Regions from separate parts of the Homo sapiens genome. Here region 1 is linked to region 2. The links are contacts of gene promoters, found by promoter capture Hi-C in human tissues and cell types (Jung and others, 2019). All regions are on one chromosome and are shown on one strand. The core of a region is centred on a gene start or on the middle of the fragment in contact, and the rest is flanking DNA. Distances in the headings are between cores, read along the strand shown. Region 1 has its middle 6.2 kb from the start of OR10G6. Region 2 holds the start of OR6X1 (olfactory receptor family 6 subfamily X member 1).

Region 1 (4,038 bases), core at 96-2,595, 240 kb before region 2:
TGATATTTTTGACTTAGGATGGGTTTATCAGGACATTAATTCCATTCTAAGTTGAGGAGCATGGAGAAAAACACTCCTAGGAAAGAGATAAGAAAAGAGGTGTCATAGCAAAGTCTCAATTTTTTTGTCAGGCTTGACAGTCACTAGCCAGATTTTTCTCACCTACCATTTTTATGCTATACGCAGGTGGTGAAATACAGTAAGCATGATTTGTTCAAAAAATTATTTCTATTTGAATTTATTTGGTATTTTGACTATTTCATTGAGCTTAAAGGATTAGGCTAAAAATAATTGGGGGAAGTTTAGTCATGTTGATTTAAATTGTATGAACAGTATATGTATAACAGTATATGGTATAAATTGTATATGAACAGTCCAATATTGGAATTGACTTTTCTGTGAAGTAGTGATATTCTCATATTGAAAGGGTCATGTAAAATTCAGCGGTTTGAGTAACTGACTTTTAAAAAATTAAGATTTTATGTTATTTCACATACTATCCAGGGTTAATAGCAACTATTAATAGGACACTCTTTATGCATTATTATTTTCATTTTAAAGGTGTGGAATTGATGTATTTAGCAAGAGGAGAAGAGGAAGTGAGCAATCTTCCAAATATCCTTCAACCAGTAGTTGACAGTGACAGGACAATAAACCCAAGTCCATCTAACTTCATAGTTCATGCCATTTTTTGGCTCTCTTTCAAAGATATTTATGGAAAACATTCTTCTTCTTAGGGAACTATATCACATACACATAGAAAAGTGTAGAAGTATGCTAAGAGAGTTTCTGAACAGGCTACATATCAAAACACACTGTTAAATGCCACTGAGTTTACAGGGGAACCAAAGCATTCTTAGGGTAGAAAGACAACATGGAGAGGATAGGCTTGATCTTAACCTCGAATAGTAGCTTAGATTCTTGCTACTCAAAGTGCAATTCATGGAACCACATAATGGAAATCTCTGGGCACTTATTAGAAAGACAGAAATCTCAGTCCCTACTCCAGACCTGTTGAATTAGGATTTGCAGCTTAACAAGAGTCCCAGGTGACTCATGTGCACACTAAAGTCCGAGAAGCTTTAGAGATGTTATCAGATAAAAATGAAGTTGATTTCTTCAAGGGGGGATTGGGTAGGGTGAGGAGAACAAGAGGAGATTAACAGTAAATTTAGGAGAGGTTGAGAAAATCTACTTGCATAAAGAAATGCTTATTGAACAGAGAAATGTACTTGAGTAGAGAAAAGTTGTAGGGGATAAGAATAAATGGATACCAATCACATTTTAGAAGTTTTGAGTTATAAATTGAGAATTTTGTGTTGCACAGTAAATCAGTATGTGAGATTGAGATTATTAGCATTTGTGGGAGGGGACCAGTGAGATAAACTCTTTTGAAATTTGATCAGTCAATGTTATGCAGGATGAAGTGATTCATTAAAGGGGAGAGGTGAGAGTTGAGAAGACCTTGCAGGAGATTATAATTATAATCCCTGAGACATAATGAAATGAGAGACTCATTATGAAATGAGTCTTTTATGACCATTACCCTCAGTCTCTCATTTCGTTATGAGAATGGCTTATGATGGGTTTCATCTCATTATGAAATGAGAAACTAAGGATAATGGTTATAAAAAATTAAATGCAGATACAAATAAGACTTACATTTCAAGAAAAAGGCTATTCATGTTTTTTAAAAAACAGAAAAATTCAAATGGAATTCTGATATCTAGCTTTACCCATTGAAGAGAATAGAAAGGGTGTGTGTAGTAAGACAAGTCCTTTTTTTTTATTTTTAAAAAATGTTTTATTAAAACTTTAAGCAACTTAATAATGTCAAGATTTTTAAAAAGTATACTCTAATCCCATTTCCTGATCATATCAATTTCTTACATTTCCCCAACTTTGGCTGAAATTTTAAGAATTGTGTTTTTTGGGGGGGGGTTGCATTCTTTTTATTATTATTATACTTTAAGTTTTAGGGTACATGTGCACATTGTGCAGGTTAGTTACATATATATACATGTGCCATGCTGGTGTGCTTCACCCATTAACTCGTCATCTAGCATTAGGTATATCTCCTAATGCTATCCCTCCCCCCTCCCCCCACCCCACAACAGTCCCGAGTGTGATGTTCCCCTTCCTGTGTCCATGTGCTCTCATTGTTCAATTCCCACCTGTGAGTGAGAATATGTGGTGTTTGGTTTTTTGTTCTTGCGATAATTTACTGAGAATGATGATTTCCAATTTCATCCATGTCCCTACAAAGGACATGAACTCATCATTTTGTATGGCTGCATAGTATTCCATGGTGTATATGTGCCACATTTTCTTAATCCAGTCTATCATTGTTGGACATTTGGGTTGGTTCCAAGTCTTTGCTATTGTGAATAATGCCGCAATAAACATACGTGTGCGTGTGTCTTTATAGCAGCATGATTTATAGTCCTTTGGGTATATACCCAGTAATGGGATGGCTGGGTCAAATGGTATTTCTAGTTCTAGATCCCTGAGGAATTGCCACACTGACTTCCACAATGGTTGAACTAGTTTACAGTCCCACCAACAGTGTAAAAGTGTTCCTATTTCTCCACATCCTCTCCAGCACCTGTGGTTTCCTGGCTTTTTAATGATTGCCATTCTAACTGGTGTGAGATGGTATTTCACTGTGGTTTTGATTTGCATTTCTCCGATGGCCAGTGATGGTGAGGATTTTTTCATGTGTTTTTTGGCTGCATAAATGTCTTCTTTTGAGAAGTGTCTGTTCATGTCCTTCGCCCACTTTTTGATGGGGTTGTTTTTTTCTTGTAAATTTGTTTGAGTTCATTGTAGATTCTGGATATTAGCCCTTTGTCAGATGAGTAGGTTGCGAAAATTTTCTCCCATTTTGTAGGGTGCCTGTTCACTCTGATGGTAGTTTCTTTTGCTGTGCAGAAGCTCTTTAGTTTAATTAGATCCCATTTGTCAATTTTGGCTTTTGTTGCCTAAAAATTTAGAGATGAAATCCAGAGAATACTACAAACCACAGAAATTGCCTTGATTATTAACTGAACACACAATTCCAAGCTTTGAAAGAGTTTCAGATTCCAAGACTCACTCTGGGTGTGTGGCAGGTGGGATTCCTGTACTCTTATCGATGTAATGAAATTCAGACTCCAGGCAAAAGTTCACAGGTATTGGATGAAATTTCCCATGCCTCCTGGAAATAAGGCACTGCTCATCTCCATCTGTAGCTCTACTAAAGAATCCAACAAAAGCAGGAATAGAAAAAGATTGGAAGAAATCCACTTTTATAAGACTTTTTTTATTATTATTATACTTTAAGTTTTAGGGTACATGTGCACATTGTGCAGGTTAGTTACATATGTATACATGTGCCATGCTGGTGCACTGCACCCACTAACTCGTCATCTAGCATTAGGTATATCTCCCAATGCTATCCCTCCCCCCTCCCCACAACAGTCCCCAGAGTGTGATATTCCCCTTCCTGTGTCCATGTGATCTCATTGTTCAATTCCCACCTATGAGTGAGAATATGCGGTGTCTGGTTTTTTGCTCTTGCGATAGTTTACTGAGAATGATGATTTCCAATTTCACCCATGTCCCTACAAAGGACATGAACTCATCATTTTTTATGGCTGCATAGTATTCCATGGTGTATATGTGCCACATTTTCTTAAGGAAGTGGATTTTCCAGGCCCTTTTGGAGACTATGTATTTATTTGAATAGGAGATTAGTACTAACATCATCTGGCTATAATTTGTGTGCTTAATGCAATTAACAATTCTTCTACTGAGAGATTCAAAGAAAAAGCAGACAATAGTAACAATATAGGATCTTCAGAGTAATATTATATGTCTTTATATGTACCATGGTGACATTGCACTTAGAGGAAAAAATATGTTAAGTCAAAGGAATAAATTCAGTTAAGTAAAAAGGGGAGTAACTAACCATCTACTATGAATGAAAATAAGGTAATGAGGACGAATGGCCCAACTCCAATACCCACACCTAGTGTCACTGTGACTGAGCATCTCTCA
Region 2 (3,876 bases), core at 639-3,138:
AGGACAAGCCTGACTCCCAGCTCCAGCTCAAGTGAAATTCTCTGCTCTGGTTCTATTTCACAAAAACTGAATCCTTGTCTGGAATGCATTCCCCCTCTCTCCTTACTTCACTTTCATTTCCTTTTGAACTCTAGGACTCAGCTTAGGCCTCTCCTTCTTTAGAAAAACTTCCTTAACCCCTGCTAAAGATGGGCGAAGAGCCCCTTCTAAGTGTTTCTAAAACAATCTGTGCACAGCTCTACACTTTCCCTCACTGAGTCATGTTGCAATTATTATACTATATATAGTATCCACCTATCTATCTATCTATCTATCTATCTATCTATCTATCTATCTATCTATCTATCTATCCACCTATCTATCTATCTATCTGATAAGCTCTTTAATTGCCTGGCAGTACTTGAAGCATAGTAAGCTCTCAACAAATGCTTGTGGAATTCATAGGTCTAATTCTCCAAATGGTAGAATGTGTAGCCCTTGGAAATGTTATATTGAGCTATAGAGATTGCCACTCTTCTCTGCATGGGGAATGAAGATAATTCCATATCTATCCTATATAAAGAGATCACGTTCGTGGCCAGTTATATTGGCCATTAGTGCAAATTCAAATACTTCTCTGTCTCTCATCGTTTTGTGGAAAGGCACTAGAGCTTGTGACATTGTAGACAAAGAATCTTTTCCTGGTCTAGAAAAGAGGTGGGAGAAAATGGAAGTGTTTTTCTTCCCTAAGCAAGCCCTCAGAGAATTACAGTTATCTCACATGAGGGAAGAATGAAACAACCTATCAATGACCTGTAAGTTGCCTCTTTCATGCTAAGCTTCTTATGTACTTTGAAAAATGTGAAATTCATTTCACAGTAATTTGTCTCACCCATTTCAAAGGAAACCCACATGGAAGAATAGCCTCAATAAGAAAGGAAGTAGTTTTACTATTTTCTACTGAATTTTGGTAGAACAGAAAGGATGTTCTCAGCCCATGAATTTGCATATACAAATAGAAATACTTTACTTGGTATAAAAAGACATTTAGTCACAAAAAAAATTTTGACAAAAATGTACTTTTCAGAGTTCCCATTTTGTTATCCTTAGCATTTGCTAACCTTTCACTTTTGTAGATTAGTGTCTGCAGATCTTTATCCCATGTACATTTATTAGGTGCTTCCATATAACAGGCTTTGACTCAGCTTGTTCTGAAATTTTGAATTTGAGTTGAATATTTCTCTACTTCCTAAACAGTTTTATTCATTTAGTTTTAAATGTTATTTTTGATACCTTTAGCAAAGGAGTCTGAACTAGAATGTGGAAGTGGATTCTTCAGAAAAACACCTCTTCTGTTATCTAACTTTATCTCACCACTAATATAATAGCAATGATTTGGGGTTATTTTAAGACACACACTCACACCCACACACAATAATGGCTTCCTTAAACGTATCTGTAATGTAATCAGTAACTTCTTTTTCAGACTCTGAGAATAGGGATTAATTTCTTATGAACTCACAGCCACGTTTACGTACATAAGTTGGTATACACACTATGCATTGAAAATAGTTATATGAATAATTGACAAGAAGCAACCACATTTCACATGATTATTCTCATAGTTGTATAAGGGTGAAAAAACACTTTGCATTCATCAAGTGTTTTTAATACATTCAAAGTCCATTAGAAGCTGGTTTTGCTGACAAAAGAACCAGCCAAATCATCAGTAAAGAAGGGGTGGCCAGTGCGTATTTGTATGTGGGTGAGGGAGGACCTGAAATAGAGTCAGGTCCCGAAGGACCTTACATAGTCAGAATCCTCCTTATTTTTTGTCCCAACTATAATCAACTGTGCTCTAAGATTCTAAGGAGCTTTCTTGCTTGTCTTTCTAGGGTATCAAGGGACATGAGAAATGGCACAGTAATCACAGAATTCATCCTGCTAGGCTTTCCTGTTATCCAAGGCCTACAAACACCTCTCTTTATTGCAATCTTTCTCACCTACATATTAACCCTTGCAGGCAATGGGCTTATTATTGCCACTGTGTGGGCTGAGCCCAGGCTACAAATTCCAATGTACTTCTTCCTTTGTAACTTGTCTTTCTTAGAAATCTGGTACACCACCACAGTCATCCCCAAACTGCTAGGAACCTTTGTAGTGGCAAGAACAGTAATCTGCATGTCCTGCTGCCTGCTGCAGGCCTTCTTCCACTTCTTCGTGGGCACCACCGAGTTCTTGATCCTCACTATCATGTCTTTTGACCGCTACCTCACCATCTGCAATCCCCTTCACCACCCCACCATCATGACCAGCAAACTCTGCCTGCAGCTGGCCCTGAGCTCCTGGGTGGTGGGCTTCACCATTGTCTTTTGTCAGACGATGCTGCTCATCCAGTTGCCATTCTGTGGCAATAATGTTATCAGTCATTTCTACTGTGATGTTGGGCCCAGTTTGAAAGCCGCCTGCATAGACACCAGCATTTTGGAACTCCTGGGCGTCATAGCAACCATCCTTGTGATCCCAGGGTCACTTCTCTTTAATATGATTTCTTATATCTACATTCTGTCCGCAATCCTACGAATTCCTTCAGCCACTGGCCACCAAAAGACTTTCTCTACCTGTGCCTCGCACCTGACAGTTGTCTCCCTGCTCTACGGGGCTGTTCTGTTCATGTACCTAAGACCCACAGCACACTCCTCCTTTAAGATTAATAAGGTGGTGTCTGTGCTAAATACTATCCTCACCCCCCTTCTGAATCCCTTTATTTATACTATTAGAAACAAGGAGGTGAAGGGAGCCTTAAGAAAGGCAATGACTTGCCCAAAGACTGGTCATGCAAAGTAAAACATGCAACACATCAAAGTGAGCTTAATGCAGATAAAAACAATGAAAGTTGAGAGAGGATTTTGGAGAAGTTTGGTAAAACAGGCTCCCCCCAAATCCCAGAAGTTCTGATTCAATGCTATAGTAAGATAAAGATGCAAAAGCAAACCATGATGGTTAAGGTCTCCCATGAGAACTTGTTACATGTAAATGAACTAGGAGTTTTTCTTGAGAAGAAACAATGTAATTCTTCAACAAGGAAGTCCCAGTATATCCTCAGATGCATGAAGTAGAACTCTGGACTTGTCAACTGCAAACTGAAAGTAGAAACCACTAAGGTCAGAGACAAATGTCAACAACTTTAAAAATGTATAAGGAATCCTGTCTCCCTCTTTATTTATGACCACCATCTTTTTTTTTATGACCACCCTCTTTGCCTCATCTTCTTGTCAAAAACATAAAACATTCCACATCTCATTTTCTTAGTTCCTATCATCTTTATCATGAGAGAAGCACGCTACAGACTTCTAATAATTCTAATGGTCCTTCCAAAATATTTGAAATGAATCAGCTTTTTGTTTGATAATATCTCAATAAGGGGACTTCCATCTTGAAATAATACAAATTTTTAGATAAACTTAGAGGTGTTCATCCTCAGATAATACCAAAACTTGAGAACATCTTGTAAAAAATTTCCATTTGCAGTTCATGGATTACAGCAGTTTCTGGGCTCCAATATAAGTAGACCATGTACCTAGGAAGCTAGGAAAAGTCTCAGAGCCAATATATCTAGAAACACTTTCCTACTGGAAAATGCAGCCCCAAGGTTACATGAAGTTCAGGGCTCACATGTAGGATTGTCACCAAAACCCCCAGGGTTCAGTCAGGTCCTGGTGTTTGCTGCACAGAACATCAATCACTGAGTCACTGAGCATTGCCAGGGAAGAAGGCTTTAACTGAATGCTGCAGCCAAGAAAAATGGGAGGTAGAGTCTCAAATCCATCTCCCCAACCAACTAAATTTGGGAGGTTTATATATAGTGGAAGGGAGGGAGAATAGGAGTTAGAGAGG

What was found. The method cuts DNA at HindIII sites, captures the fragments that hold promoters and counts their contacts. A contact is called where the count stands out against the background at its distance.
Region 1: a fragment that was not itself captured here is called in contact with the fragment with the promoter of OR6X1 in region 2 in 1 of the 25 tissues and cell types used here (liver).

What each region holds. Positions count from the first base shown.
Region 1 is chr11:123,986,970-123,991,007 of GRCh38, reverse strand. No RefSeq gene overlaps it. Among named protein-coding and RNA genes, the nearest start is that of OR10G6, 6.2 kb to the left of the region's middle. The HindIII fragment of the contact is 7,262 bases long and covers 1-4,038 here.
Region 2 is chr11:123,752,530-123,756,405 of GRCh38, reverse strand. OR6X1 (olfactory receptor family 6 subfamily X member 1) reads left to right here and starts at 1,888. Exons shown (of 1, transcript NM_001005188.1): 1 at 1,888-2,826. The coding sequence starts at 1,888. The coding sequence ends at 2,826. The HindIII fragment of the contact is 6,166 bases long and covers 384-3,876 here.